Linked DNA regions of Homo sapiens: regions 1, 2 and 4 are each linked to region 3. Evidence: promoter capture Hi-C in 16 types of primary human blood cells and fetal thymus (Javierre and others, 2016). All regions are on one chromosome and are shown on one strand. Each heading gives the region's core, a stretch centred on a gene start or on the middle of the fragment in contact. The rest is flanking DNA. Distances are from core to core; before and after follow the strand shown.

What was found. The method cuts DNA at HindIII sites, captures the fragments that hold promoters and counts their contacts. A CHiCAGO score of 5 or more calls a contact.
Region 1: a contact is called between a fragment that was not itself captured here and the fragment with the promoter of SMAD2 in region 3, in 4 of 17 cell types (M1 macrophages, M2 macrophages, M0 macrophages and 1 more). The highest score is 9.1, in M1 macrophages.
Region 2: a contact is called between a fragment that was not itself captured here and the fragment with the promoter of SMAD2 in region 3, in 3 of 17 cell types (M2 macrophages, M0 macrophages and M1 macrophages). The highest score is 6.2, in M2 macrophages.
Region 4: a contact is called between the fragment with the promoter of IER3IP1 here and the fragment with the promoter of SMAD2 in region 3, in 13 of 17 cell types (activated CD4 T cells, naive CD8 T cells, naive B cells and 10 more). The highest score is 16.6, in activated CD4 T cells.

The regions. Positions count from the first base shown.
Region 1 is chr18:48,440,596-48,444,238 of GRCh38, reverse strand. No RefSeq gene overlaps it. Among named protein-coding and RNA genes, the nearest start is that of ZBTB7C, 33 kb to the right of the region's middle. The HindIII fragment of the contact is 1,578 bases long and covers 536-2,113 here.
Region 2 is chr18:48,463,969-48,467,822 of GRCh38, reverse strand. No RefSeq gene overlaps it. Among named protein-coding and RNA genes, the nearest start is that of ZBTB7C, 57 kb to the right of the region's middle. The HindIII fragment of the contact is 6,511 bases long and covers 1-3,854 here.
Region 3 is chr18:47,928,221-47,932,026 of GRCh38, reverse strand. SMAD2 (SMAD family member 2) reads left to right here and starts at 1,368. Exons shown (of 11, transcript NM_005901.6): 1 at 1,368-1,666. RefSeq lists silencers at 450-1,379, 1,410-1,939. The HindIII fragment of the contact is 8,478 bases long and covers 1-3,806 here.
Region 4 is chr18:47,174,973-47,178,732 of GRCh38, reverse strand. It overlaps IER3IP1 (immediate early response 3 interacting protein 1), which reads left to right and starts at 2,369. Exons shown (of 3, transcript NM_016097.5): 1 at 2,369-2,546. The coding sequence starts at 2,456. RefSeq lists enhancers at 2,201-2,330, 2,341-2,460. The HindIII fragment of the contact is 4,620 bases long and covers 1-3,760 here.

The sequences.
Region 1 (3,643 bases), core at 75-2,574, 510 kb before region 3:
CTTTTAGCCCCTTCCCAAGGGAATTTGCATTTTAACAGAAAAGGATGAATATCTGAGAAGGGATTCCTGGATGGATCAAAAGATGAATTTTCAGCCCTGGGTGTTCCTGCAAACACCCACAGATTAGTGCTTATTAGTGCTTCTTTTTTGTTTTTTTGTTTTTGTTTTTGTTTTTGTTTTTGTTTTGAGACGGAGTCTTGCTCTGTCACCCAGGCTGGAGTGCAGTGGCGTGACCTTGGCTCACTGCAACCTCCACCTCCTGGGTTCATGCCATTCTCCTGCCTCAGCATCCCAAGTAGCTGGGACTACAGGTGCCCACCACCACGCCTGGCTAATTTTTTTGTGTTTTTAGTAGAGATAGGGTTTCATCATGTTAGCCAGGATGGTCTCAATCTCCTGACTTCATGATCTGCCTGCCTCGGCCTCCCGAAGTGCTGGGATTACAGGCATGAGCCACCATGCCTGGCCAGATTAGTGCTTCTTAAACCCGTTTCAGGAGTATGTAGCAGTTCATTACAGGAAGCTCAAACAAGCTTCTTTTAGCAAGAAGCATCCTCCTGGAGGGTCACTTTATCCTAAGATTTGGGGACAAAAATTCCTATATTAAGCAACTCAGTAATAATATAGAAAAGAATGCAAAATATACATGAATTTCTAAGGGAAATTATTGACTTCAAAGACATTTCACACATCTTTTGGGATGCCTTAGGCCCACCCCTGGCCTCCCTGGAGGGGAGCAACATAGTCACTCTCTAGTTACAGAGTACTTGGTGTAGATAATGATGCTCTCCACCCTGGGCCAAAGTGGCCATGCATGGGCCAAGACATACACAAGATAACCAACCAAATAAGAACCAAACCCACACACTCCCTGCCAGTCTAGACAATGCAGTTTTGGAGGTAGAGGGTCCCTCACAGATCAGCTAGTCTGATTTTTTTGTTTTACAAAGATACTAACACCAAGAGCCAGAGAATGGAAATCATTTGCTCAAGATGGGGCAGATTTGTGGTCCCCTGAGTCTGAGTCTCCTTCATGGCATTTACTATGGGTAGTGCCAGGGAGGTGAAATTGGCTGGCTGTGAGGCTGAAACATGGTAGGTAGGCCCCTCGGGTTGCTGTTCCAGGAGATCATGGGGCCATGGGCATAATAGGCACAGGTAGAAGTTTCTGGCAGGAGTAGCTGCTGGAGAATCCACATACTTGATGTGCTGGGCAGCTCCCTGTGGGTTGAGTCAGCCTCAGCCAGCTACTAGGGATTCACCCTGGATCCATTCTCTTACGTGTGAGGCTGACATCAGAACCACTTTCTATGACTCCAAGAGAAAGCCACACTTCTTTCTCAACAGTTATTTCAGACATTGATTTTTTTCTCCCCCTGGTTGTTTCTCATGGAAAACAAGACTGCTTTCCCCCAAGTCCCAAGTGACTGCCTTCTTTGATCCTGCCCCTGGGGCTGTGTGTGTGACACCATCATTTGGCAAACAGTGAGAAAACAAAGAGAAAACCCAGAAGGGTTGGGGTTTCTAAAATCTAGGGCACAGTCCATCCCTTGAGAAGCAGCAAGTAATCTAGCTGAGTGAGAGAAGACCAACATGAATTTGAAAACAGTAAAAAACCATAAAGAAGGAAGGGTGGTTCAGGCTGTGATTGAGAGAATAGCTTAGAGGGGAGGGCTGGATGGGGACAGGAGTGATCAGGGAAACCTCGCTGGAGCTGCCATCTCCTGTCCTAGGTTTTGGGGCACCAGCACAAGAGTACCAGACTTGGAGGTGGGGGTGCACGTTTAAATTTGAGTTCACCCAAACGAATTTTGTAAGGGGGCCCATCTCCAGTTCTTCCTAAGTCCCCTCCCATGTTGTCCTCTATGCCCAGTGATTGTGTAAATCCCTCAGGAAAAGACTATCTCATCAGCATGCATTTTCTCAGATTGGCCCTGCTCTGCTGGCTTTTTCCCTACAGTTGTCTCTGTAGCTTCCCTTAGTCTCAGTTTCCCCATATGCGAACGAAAGAGATTTGTTCCCCTGCTCCTCTCTAAGAAGGTTGTGAAGATAAATGGCATCACAGGCTAGATCAATTCAACTCAAGCCCAGGGAAATATTGCACTGGGAAGCTTCATTCAAACTATTCTCCTCCAGTCTGTCAAGCATCGCTATCGAGACAGCTGGAGGAAGAATTTCAGATGGGGGGCTGGGCAAAGGGGTGGCACCCTTTGTATTCATTCATTCCACAAAAGAAAATATACTTGGATTCCAAGAAATGGAGGGAGCATAGCTCCAGGCAAGTGTGCAAGGGGGCCGCCTTGTCACCTTTCCTGAGTGTCCTGGGCCAGAGCAGCCGGTGGAGGACGTGGCACTTGGAACCAGCTCAGCTGCAAAGGCAGACCACAACCAAACCAGTAACTGCTTTTCCAGACACTGCACACAGCTTCGCCGGGCTGGAGAGTGTGAGGCAGCTGACAGACTGAGAAGGGCTTGCAGTTTCCAGCGCTCCGACCGGTGTCAGAAATCCTCAGAAGATTGATGGGCCTTTTCCAAAGAGGAGGCCAGAGCACTTTCAGGATGAGAGCCCGGGAGGAGCCGGGCTTTGGAGAACTTGGCACAGAGCTGCCTTTTGCCCCCAGGGACCTGGATCTGAGCGTGGTCCCAGAGTCTTGGCAGGAGGTCGTGTTTCAGTTGGCATCCTCTGCCGCGGTGGAGGAAGCCGACCACGGCCGGACATCCTGTGCCAGTTTGGGAGGGTTGGGAGCGCCTTTCAGAGAAGTCCCAAAACCCTGAGCACACGCAGTCACACTGCATTCATTCAGCACACAAGTGCTGTTTCTAAGGTCAGCACCAGATGTGACTTTAAAAGTGTACAAAAGGAACACAGATTTCAACAAGCGGAATCCTGCCTGGCCTTCAGCTTTAATGGAACAGCCCTCACAGGCCAACCTGGGTGGGTTTAAATTCATTTAAGCCACTTTCCTGACAGAGGGGTCTGACTACGGAGAACTCAGCCGAGGACTTGGAGCATTTCCTCCTGTAGTTAGATTCGGTGGAGGACTGGTGGGGCTGAGTCCTCAGCCCGATTAAGCAATGAATTGGGATTTGTTTCCCTGAGCCCAGGGGTGGCGGGGATGGGGTAAGGTTGTGGCAAGGTCCCTGGACTGGAGTCAGGCATTCTGTAATTGAGTCCTTCCTAGGATACTAACTAGCACATGACTGCAGGCCGTCAACCTCCTCGCTGTCCTATTCTGAGATTCCTCCAGCTTGAAAATTCGAAATGGGGGTGTTCCAACTATAAGCGAAGATTATATTTTTAATATGAGTGGAGGATTCCTGATGATCTCCAGTTAAAGGAAAGAGTTTTCTAAATCCATAGACTTTTGATTTCCCTTAAATTATTATGTAAATAGCAGATGTAAAGACAGTTCTAGTTGGAGTCAGGTAGGTAGGAAGAACTGAAATTCATTCAAATGAGCTTAAGAAAAAGGGAGTTTATTGGATCCTATGAAACCTAAGATGAGGCTGGGTCTTGCAGGGGCTGAAGCTGGAAGCTGGAAAGTTATCTGGAATGGAGATGGCCTGTCTGCTTCATTCTCTCTTTCTGTCCATTATGAGTTTCCTTTGTTTATCCAGAGTCCCTGTCACTCGTAAATGTCAC
Region 2 (3,854 bases), core at 1,289-3,788, 530 kb before region 3:
CCTAATGACTTTATTTTAACTTGATTCCTTTTGTAAAAATCATGTCTCCAAATAAGTCACATTCTGAGGTAGTGGGAGTTCAGAATTCAACATATGAATTTGAGCAGGACAGAATTTAACTCATAAGAGTTGACAAAGCCAGGTCTCTTTATTTCTTTGTTAGTACCTACAAATCACCAACACAAAATGGCTGCGTTCCCTCCCTAGGAGTTCTGACTGGGTCTTCCGGACTGACTTTCTGCTCTCCACAAGCAGCTCTCAGTTGATGCTTTCTCCTCTCTTACGCTGCCAAAATGTGTCCTGTAACCATTTCCAGTGTAGTCACATCATTCTTTTTTTTGTTATGCCCAATAGCTGAGTGACCTGGGTGGTCCAAAAATTCCCCTGAAGTCTTGTGACCTGGTCACGCAACACAGCCAGCAACGGCAGCAACCGCCCACCCTGGGAAAATCTGTCATTCCAGACTGCTTTAACTGAATCCTAGTTCATACACTTGTATGACTATGTATACCTGGAATTGCCCTTAGAGACTAAATATCCTAGAGGTGTTCAACCAGTTTTCACAAATACACTGTTTTTAGAGACAGGGTCTCAGTCTCTCTCCCAGGCTGTAGTGCAGTGATGCCATCGTGGCTCACTGCAGCTTTGAACTCCTGGTCTCAAGCAATCCTCCCACCTCGGCCTCCTGAGTAGCTGGGATAGCTGAGACAGCTGAGACTTCAGATGCACACCACCATGCCTGGCTAATTTTCTTTATTTTTTGGAGAGGCAGGGTCTTGCTATGCTGCTTAGTCTGGTCTTGAACTCCTGGCCTCAAGTGATTATCCTGCTTTGGCCTCCCAAAATTTTGGGATTATAGGTATGAGCCACCATGCCCAGTTCAAATAATCTCTTTTATTCAAATGAACTATTTGGTAAATCCTCAATGTAAAACAGGTAAAAAGAAATGAATGGACTAGGAGTTCCCATTTTTGTAATTTGTGGATGTTGCATGACTGTTGTGGAACCAATGGAGTACTTCCATGGAGCCCCGAGTTTCTCTGTCTCAGAGAAAACTGCAGATCTCTCCAAACTCCTTGGTTTGCAGGAAAGGAAATGGAACCCAAAGAAATGAAAAGAACGAGCCAAAAGCACTCACAGAGTGGAAGATCCAATGGGGAACTCTGGTATCTTGAAACCTAGACTAGTACTATCACAAGGGCCTGCCTCTGGCAGTCAGGACCTTAAAAAGAATGAGTTTACCATTGTTTTAGAAAGTATTTCTCGGCCAGGCGCGGTGGCTCATGCCTGTAATCCCAGCACTTTGGGAGGCCAAGGAGGGCGGATCATGAGGTCAGGAGATCTAGACCATCCTGGCTAACATGGTGAAACCCCATCTCTACTAAAAATACAAAAAATTAGCCAGGTGCAGTGGCGGGCGCCTGTAGTCCCAGCTACTCGGGAGGCTGAGGCAGGAGAATGGCGTGAACCCGGGAGGCGGAGCTTGCAGTGAGCTGAGATGGCGCCACTGCACTCCAGCCTGGGCGACAGAGCGAGACTCCATCTCAAAAAAAAAAAAAAAGAAAGTATTTCTCAAGTGAGTTCTGGACAGCATCTTGTAAGTAAGTATGATTCCCAAATAAATTCTGGAAAAGCTGTTCTATAATTCTCCATAGCTAACTCTCATAGCATATTAGTTGTACTTAAGGCTCAAAGATGTCCTGCAGCACAGAAAGCCACTTATCTTTGCTTATTCCAGTTTTTCCAAAAGTCTTAAAAAACAAAAACAAAAAGGTGTTACATTTTCCTAGGACTGCTTGCACTCTGCTTTGGAGCCCAGAAGAGTCTTCTCTTAAGATGTGAATCTCTACAGGGAGCAACTCAGTCATGCTAACAGTGGCTGTGAGATTTCAGGTATCATGACCTGCACCATTTCCTTTGCCTGGGAATTGCTGGCCAGCATCTCTGGCAGGTGCAAGGATGGAGGCAGATGAGCGAGGAATTGCAGTGTGGTAGAAATGAATGGTGCTGTCTTTAAATTGCCCCTTGGAGTTTTGTACTTCTTGTACCTTTTGGGAGAAGAGTAGCCTTCAAGAGCCTGGATGTGGCCAGTGGTCTGGGAGAGATTTCCTAGCCTATTCTTTCATTGTTTTGCCTCCTTTCTCTAATGCATGCCTACTTCCAAATCCTCCCTTCAAATGCTTGCTCCTCTCCATTCCTGCCAACACCTTTCTGAGCCTCTCATCGTTCTCCAGTGACCTCCAGGCAGAGCACTCTAAGGTCCGTCACCCTTATCTTCCCTGGACAGTTGGTGTATGTAAATGTGATTACCAGAATCTTTTGCAAGGATGAAGTTCCAACGCTCCAGCATGAGAATTTCCAACACTCCTTTAGAGTCTAGGAATAAACAAACCCAATTAAATTCACAGCCACCACCAGAGGGCACAGTGAGACTCATGCAGGAGTAAAGGATGTTGAATAGAGACTGCAAAAACTTACTCTTGAAATGCATTTATTTATTTATTTATTTATTTATTTATTTATTTATTTATTTTTATGTTCATAGCTGGTTCACATAGTCTTAGAAACAGGCAAAGTTTGAATCTAAAAACTGCAGAGTGAAATACTGTAGCTTTGGTCATTATTCGTGACTTCTTCATTACCTTTATTCCAAATTCAGTAGAATTCTCTTATAATTAGACTCATGCCACACCACTGCAGTTGTGCCCTGGGGACCTAATCCCAGCCTTTCATAGATGTGCAGGCAGAGTGTTCACAAGAAGTTCCCAGCCTTGTTCTCACAAACATGAATGCTAAGGAGGACTCCTTTATAATTAAGTTTCAACTATAAAGCAGGGCTGGGGAAAAATACGGTGTACAGTAGAGGCTGTTCTGGGTTGGCCTTCAGAAAATGGGACTCTGACTCCAGCTCTGATATGATTAACCATGTGAATCTCTGATGTAACAACAGTGAGAGTGGATGTTCATTGAGAACCTACTGTATGCCACCTACTGTGTGCCACCCTGGCACCTTATAAATATTATCACCATTCTTATGATAAAACTGCGAGACAGATATTTTCCCCTTTATTTAACAAATACGAAAACTGATGCTCAGAAATATTAAATGATGTGCTTAAAGACACACAGCCAGCAAGTGATGGAACCATGAAACCATTTCTAGGTGTGTTTGGCCATAAACCAGGTGATTTTTCATTACTTACACTTTTTCCACTTTTTGATGTTTCAGTTTCTGTACATTCTTTGTAATAAAATTCACTCCTGTCTTTCTGCTTATTCAGGCTTGGCTAACTGTTGTCACAATCTCAAACTCTCAGAGGTTGAATAAGATAAAAACCTTTCTTGTTTATGCATAAGTCCAATGCAAGTCAGACAGGGGCCTTTGCTCCAGGCAGTCATTCAGGCACCCAGTTTCCTTCCATCTTTTGGAGCTGCCATCTTCAGAATGTGGCTTTCAGGGTCTCCATGGATCAGAAAGGAGAGTCATATGAGAGATTTGTATGTGCCAGGCCTGGAAGTGGCACACATCACTTTCCATTTGTCTGAACTAGGTAATCCAGTCCTAACCTAATGGCAAATAGATTGGGAAATAACGTTGAGCCCTGGGTCCGGGAAGAAGAAGAGAAAATGGATATTGATGAACCTATCCCTCTCCACATCCCTATCTCATGAGATTGTGGTAAAGATAAAATAAAATAGTATCTGTCAGAGTACTTTACCAACAAGAGAGATGTGATAGTTTAAGCCTGGAGGGAAGGAGCTGTCAGAGAGAGATTGCAGATGGGGATATACATGAACAGCGATTATCATGGCCCAGTAAAGAGCTTGATCTATGTCCTGGGTTGAGGAATAAG
Region 3 (3,806 bases), core at 119-2,618:
AGTTGGGCTCAATATTTTGTCAGCAGAGGCTTGGGTGTTCCTAAGGGTAACCGCAACAAGGTTTTCCCTGGGTGCAGTTATGTTCTGGGCAGCCGTAAGTTTAGGGCCTTGCTGCCTCCTGTAGGGCAGATGTGCAAGTTGGGGCCTAATCGTCGCAACAGTGGAGAAAAGGGGAAGGGAAGATATCCCAGCCATTAAGGGACATCGTGACAGATGTTTCTTTTAGACTTCACAAAGACCCTTCGGGACATGGATTATTGATATCATTTTTACTGAAGACGGAACCAAAATTTAGGTTAAACACTTATACCTGGCATCCCCTACCCGGGCCCTAAGTGCTCTCCAAAGACCCCACCTCTGGGCTTATTTACATCGCGAACCCGCCCTCGTTCAGCAACACGAGGGCCCCGCCCGCTCATTTGCATAGGGCGCGCCCAGTCACGGGCCGGGTCCTCGGGCTTCTCCCGAACCCCTTTTCTCTCTCAGGCGCGTCCTCCGCGCTGCGCGGGGCCTCCCCGTGGGATGAGCACGTGTCCGCTGCCGGCCTCACGACGGACGGTGGACGAGGCGGCAGGCCCCTACAGGCCCCACCCACGACGCTGGCGAGGGATCGGGCGGTCACCGGGAATCGTCTTAATGCGCGGCAAGGCGCGGGCCTCTCCCTCTCCGCCCGTGAGCCCCGGTGGGAGCGCGCCGGCGCCCAACTCAAGCGAAACCGCGGGCGTCCCGCCCCGCCCGGCCGCGCCCCGCCTCGCCTCACGCTAGACTGGGGAGGCGGGACCAATCAGCGAGCGACGTCTCCCTTCCGATTCGAGGCCCCCGATGCGCGGCTCACACCCCGAGCTTCCCTCGTGCTGATTGGCTGCGGGCGCCGCCGGTCCGGCCGGGAGGCGGGGCGGGCCGTAGGCAAAGGGAGGTGGGGAGGCGGTGGCCGGCGACTCCCCGCGCCCCGCTCGCCCCCCGGCCCTTCCCGCGGTGCTCGGCCTCGTTCCTTTCCTCCTCCGCTCCCTCCGTCTTCCATACCCGCCCCGCGCGGCTTTCGGCCGGCGTGCCTCGCGCCCTAACGGGCGGCTGGAGGCGCCAATCAGCGGGCGGCAGGGTGCCAGCCCCGGGGCTGCGCCGGCGAATCGGCGGGGCCCGCGGCCCAGGGTGGCAGGCGGGTCTACCCGCGCGGCCGCGGCGGCGGAGAAGCAGCTCGCCAGCCAGCAGCCCGCCAGCCGCCGGGAGGTGGGTGCGTGGCGCCGCGGCGGCCGGCGGCCGAGGGCGGAGGGCGGAAGCGGAGGTGGGCTGGCGGGGGAGGGCGCGGCCGTGCGGGCGGCCGGTAGGGCTGCGGGCGCGCGCCTGAGGGGAGGAGGGGCAGCGCGGGCGCGCGCGTCCTCACCCCCTCCTTCCCCGCGGGCGGCGGCCAGGCTCCCTCCCCTCCCCTTCCCTCTCCTCCCCTCCCCTCCCCTCTCTTCCCCTACCCTCCCGCGCGCCCGGGCCGCCGGCCGGGCCCGGGCCTGGGGGCGGGGCGGGAAGACGGCGGCCGGGAGTGTTTTCAGTTCCGCCTCCAATCGCCCATTCCCCTCTTCCCCTCCCAGCCCCCTCCATCCCATCGGAAGAGGAAGGAACAAAAGGTCCCGGACCCCCCGGATCTGACGGGGCGGGACCTGGCGCCACCTTGCAGGTAAAGCCTGGGCGCCCGCGGGCCTCCAGCTAGGGAAGTGTTTGCGTGCGTCCGCGGCCGGGGCGATGGGCCGTGTCACATGGCCGCTGCGGGTGGGGGCTGGGGTGTGGTGAGTTCGGGGGCTGTGGGTGCGCCGGCCCGGGCGTGCGGGTTCGGGGCCGGAGAGCCGGGAAGGGACGGGGCTCGGTTGCACTGCGCTGCCGCCCAGGCTGACGGGGGCGGGGGCTGCCTGCGTCCCTTCCCCTCGCTGCTCTCACACTCCATAGTTTGTGGTTCTGATTTTTAAAGCCGAAGGGCCAGAGCTCTTGTTTCAGGAGTTGTGGGGAAGCCTTGTTAGGGACGCGTAATACTTTGCCTCCACTTTTTTTTTTTGGTCTCGTAACCTTTGTTAACAGTGGTAGTCTCGGGTTTTCCATGGCTTGTGTGTACTCACAAACACGCACACAGCTGATAACTCTGTGATCATCCTTCACTCACTTGTGAAAGTTGTTCTGCGGGTGGAGCCTATTAGTTTTTATCACACGCCTTTGGAAAGCCCTCGAAGTGATTTCTCGTATTTCAAACTTGGTTTTTAAAATTGCAACTTACTTTGTTCTCTTGGAGGGGGATATTGTCTTTGGGTCAGGTACTTTTGTCTTTTACTTATCCTTAAAATGTCCTTTTGATCCTAAACAGAAAAAGAATGCCTGGGTTGGTTTTGTTATTCCTTTCTCTTGACCCTTTAAAAGCAAAATACCACCAGTGTGTTGTCAACCATACCTTTAAAAAAGAAATTTCCAGGTAAAACGAATTTGCAAGCAGCATTTTCCATCAAAGTCATGTCTTGTTTGTTGCAATTTGGACTATCTTAAATTTGGGTTTGTGAAACTTTTAAAACGACATGTGTAAAATAATTGTTAATAAATAAATAACTTGGAATAATTACATCTTTTTAGAAATGGTCTTTGAAATGTGATTTAATTTCCAAAATTCTTTTTCTCTCTTCTGACTTCATATGAATTGAACCTGATAGTTTCGTATGAATGAATCGCTGATAGGATGTTTTCCTTGAGCCTAGTAATAAATTTGCTCTTATTATGCTGAAAATTTGCTATTCTACTTTAACACCCTTTAAAAAGTTTCCATCTTACAGAGAAGTTAGTCAAATAGTTAAATGGAGTTTCAACAGTTTTAATACATGAATTAGTGAAGCAGATGAAGCAGAGATGGGAGAAGTAATTTAAAATGGGCTTCATAAATGTACCATAGTTTGAGGGTATTTAAAAAATTTGCCTTCGGAAAACCCATACAAGATATTTAAAGAATTTCCTCTGCCAGAAGGTCATTTAGCAAACGTTTATATTAAATTCAAAAGTAATACTTTTATTTTTAAAGTTCCTTAGCCGTTGCCGTAAACTTAGCTGTCGTAGTAAATATAAATAGTTCACATCTTTCGGCATTTCTAAAGAGTGTGCCCACTTTTACTATAAATATTAAACTCTGCTGGATTTAATTGAGTTCAAGGCTGTTCACTGGCCAGGTTTAATTAATGTAATGTGATTGGAAACGTTCATTTTGGGGTTTTAGTAAGAAATTGCTCTTAGAGCTTGGTTTTTATACTTAGCCACACCTTCTAAAGTGCGGCCACAAGCATTGTAGGTGTTCAACAAAAGTTTGGGTTTTCAAGGTTGTAACCTACGTTTACTTAGTCATAAGTGGTCATGTCTCTACACAGTCTGTAAGTTTCATGAAATAATAGTCTTTTAAGAAACTGTGCAGGGTAATTTCCTGTTGTTTGTGTCTTATCAGGCTTGGTATGTGTTTTAACTCTTGTGTAGGAATATTGGGGATGGTTTTGGTATTTCAACAGAACTTTAGTAGGAACAAAGGTTGTTTCTATTCTACTTCAAGATGGCCAGAGGTTGTTGTCCCCTTTTCATTTTCACATTGTAAATATTAGAATCATGTTGCTATAATCTTTACTTCACATTTGGGGGAATATATGTCAATGGAAAAACTCGGTTTAGCTGTGTAAACCGCTGGCCAAAGACCTATTGAATTTTTACATTTTGCAAATACTGTCAGTTTTAAAAGTCTTTCCTTGTTCTTGTTTGGTTTTGATTCTGTTGGTTTTGTGCTTTAGGGCTCCAAAAACCTCGTT
Region 4 (3,760 bases), core at 1,120-3,619, 750 kb after region 3:
GGAGTGCAATGGCTCAATCTCAGCTCACTGCAACCTCCGTTCCCTGGGTGCAAGTGATCCTCCCACCTCAGCCTCCTTAGTAGCTGGGACCACAGGTGTATACCACTAAGCTGAGGCATTTTTTTTTTTTTTTTGTATTTTTGGTAGAGACAGGGTCTTGCCATGTTCCCCAGGCTGAGAATCTGTAGTTTTTAAGTGGCCAATATTGAGGTGTTGTCAAGAAGAGGGCTCAGCCTGGCGGGATGACCCATTCCTGTAATAGAGTGTATTAGTCAGTATTCTCTAGAGGGACAGAACTAATAGGAGATATATATACAAAGAGGGAGCTTATTCGGTACTATTAACTCACACGATCACAAGATCCCACAATAAGCCGTCTGCAAGCTGAGGAAGCCAGTCTGAGTCCCAAAGCTGAAGAACTTGAAGTCCAACGTTCAAGGGTAGGAAGCATCCAGCATGGGAGAAAGATGTAGGCTGGGAGGCTAAGCCAGTCTACCCTTGTTGAGAGCAAGCCCCCAACAGTCTGGCCATAAACTAGCCCCAAAACTGGCCATAAATAAAATCTCTGCAGCACTATAACATGTCCATAATGGCCCTAACGCCCAAGCTGGAAGGTTGTGGGTTTACGGGAATGAGGGCAAGGAATACCTGGCCCACCCAGGTTGGAAAACTGCTTAAAGGCATTCTTAAGCCACAAACAAAAGCCTGAGAGATCTGTGTCTTAAGGATGTGTTCCTGCTGCAATTAATTCGGCCCATCCCTTCATTTCCCATAAGGGATACTTTTAGTTAATTTAACATCTATAGAAACAATGCTAATGACTGGTTTGCTGTTAATAAATACGTGGGTAAATCTTTGTTCGGGGATCTCAGCTCTGAAGGCTATAAGACCCCTGATTTCCCACTTCACACCTCTGTGTGTGTCTTTAATTCCTCTAGCACCGCTGGGTTAGGGTCTCCCCAACCGAGCTGGTCTTGGCATACCCTTTTCATTGGTTTTTTGCCTGCTTTATATCCTGGCCACTCCAGCAGCTGATTAGATGGTGCCCACTTGGATTAAGAGTGGACCTGTCTTTCCCAGCCCACTGACTCAAATGTTAATCTCCTTTGGCAACACCCTCACAGACACACCCAGGATCAATACTTTGCATCCTTCAATCCAATCAAGTTGACACTCAGTCTTAACCATCACATACAGCTAAGCAGGAGGCTAAGGCAGGAGGACTGCTCGAGCCAGGAGCTGAAGGCTGCATTGAGCTATGATGGTGCCACTGCACTCCAGCCTGGGCAACAGAGCAAGACCCTGTTCCTGGGGGGGGAAAAAAAAAAAGAAGAGGCTCAGAGGATCTTGGTTGGAGTTTGGTCAAGGAGGGGATGTTTCTCACTGAGTAATTTTAAAACAGTTATTTTGTTTTAGCATTCTGAAATCTGAAATGGGAATATTAGTATCTCCTGTATCTCCTGGGAGCATCAAGTGCAGTACTGAGCAATAGAAATATAATGCAAGCGTCACATGTCATTTACAGTATCTTCATAACCACATTAAATAAAATAATTAAAAATAAACAAGAAACCTTCCTCCCTTCCTTCCTTCTTTCCTCTTGCTCTGTCACCCAGGCTGGATCTCGGCTCACTGCAGTCTCTGCCTCCCGGGTTCAAGTGATTCTCTTCTCTCAGCCTCCTGAGTAGCTGGGATTACAGGAGCCCACCATCACACCCAGCTAATTTTTGTATTTTCAGTAGAGACAGGGTTTTGCCATGTTGGCCAGACTGGTCTCGAACTCTTGACCTTAGGTGATTTGCCCGCCTCGGTTTCCCAAAGTGCTAGAATTACAGGCGTGAGCCACTGCGCCCGGCCTCAAAATATTTTCATTTCAACATGTTATCAACATTTAAAAATTATTGGGAGGCCGAGGAGGGGGGAATCACGAGGTCAGGAGATTGAGACCATCCTGGCTAACACGGTGAAACCCCGTCTCTACTAAAAATACAAAAAATTAGCCGGGCGTGGTGGCGGGCACCTGTAGTCCCAGCTACTTGGGAGGCTGAGGCAGGAGAATGGCGTGAACCCGGGAGTCGGAGCTTGCAGTGAGCCGAGATCGTGCCACTGCACTCCAGTTTGGGCGACAGGGCCAGACTCCATCTCAAAAAAAAAAAAATTATTGGGATATTCTTCATCCTTGTTCCAGTTCCAAGTGTGTGAAATCCGGTGTGTATTTTGCACCTGCAGCACTGGCCACATCAGAGCATTGATTGCACATCACCGGTCTAGACAAGCGGCAGGACTTGCAGTCTTCAGCGAGGGGCGGTTCTTAGCCAGATGGAGGCGGGGCTTCCCGGAGAGTTCGTTTTGGGCCCCATCGGCTTCCGTAGGAAGGCGCCGGCCGTGGAGGCGCCACGTCCCTTGCGGCGGCGGGAGAGAAATCGCTTGGACTTCGGGGCGGCCTCGGACGGCCATGGCCTTTACCCTGTACTCACTGCTGCAGGCAGCCCTGCTCTGCGTCAACGCCATCGCAGTGCTGCACGAGGAGCGATTCCTCAAGAACAGTGAGTGGGACCGCGGGGCGCGGGCTGGGGCGGCGGCGGAGTCCCCGGGGGCGCGTAACCTAATGGGGCCGCGTGAGGGGACACCAAGGGCCGGGACAGAAGAACAGCGGAAGGCTCGGCTTGGAGTGGAAGCCGAGCCTTTCCTCTCATCAGGTTTGGGCTCAACAGCCGGGAGAATATTCAACAGACACCCGCTGTGCAGGGCCCAGGGGGTTGGGGTGGAGGGATATAGAAGTCAGTCAGGGACGCCTCTGCTTGCGATTACTTCAGGTCAGTAATTTAATTCAGTTTTCTGTGACTACTTTTTTTTTTGAGGGGGAGTCTCGCTCTTTTGCCCAGGCTGAAGTGCAGTGTCGCGGTCCTGTGACTACTTTTAATAGTCGAAAACCCGGGGTCTGAGTTTCGGGCTAAGAGTTGGGGGTGTGGGGCCGGGCGCGGTGGCTCCCGCCTGTAATCCCAGCACTTTGGCAGGCCGAGGCCGGCGGATCATGATGTCAGGAGTTTGGGACCAGCCTGGCCAACATGGTAAAACCCCGTCTCTACTAAAAATACAAAGATTAGCCGGACGTGGTGGTGGAAATACAAAAATTAGCCGGGCGGGAGGCTGAGGCAGGAGAATCACTTAAACCTGGGAGGCAGAGGTTGCAGTGAGCCGAGATTGCGCCATTGCACTCCAGCCTGGGCAATAGAGTGAGACTCCGTCTAACAAAACAAAACAAACAAAACAAAACGAGTTGGGTGTGGAGGGGAAGGAGGCGTGACCCATTTTGGAGCATCAGTAGTTCACTAACTGATGGAAGGCAATAAGTGTTCCTGGGCTTTAGGAATTACAGGAAGGGAACGTGTTGGAGTTATCAGGACATTCAGACACTCATGTTCCAAGAAAAGTTTATTCAGATAGCTTATTGGGTGCATAGAGTGTGCCAAAAACTCTGCTAGAATTTAGAAATTCAAAAATGAAAACACAAGTTATACCTTCCAGGACCTCACGTTGTGTACCAAGTATGCCCGTTTGAATCACTGAAACGTAAACCCAGGAGCAAGATTGATTCATTTCATTTACTTCAGAAGATATTTATTGAGTGCAAAGTATGTGCCAGGCCCATTTATAGTAACTGAAGTTACAGCAGCTACTCTGCCCTTCTGATGGAAGTTAATCTAAATAAAAACTAAACAAATGACAATAACAAGTATAGAGAGTATTATGTAAGAGA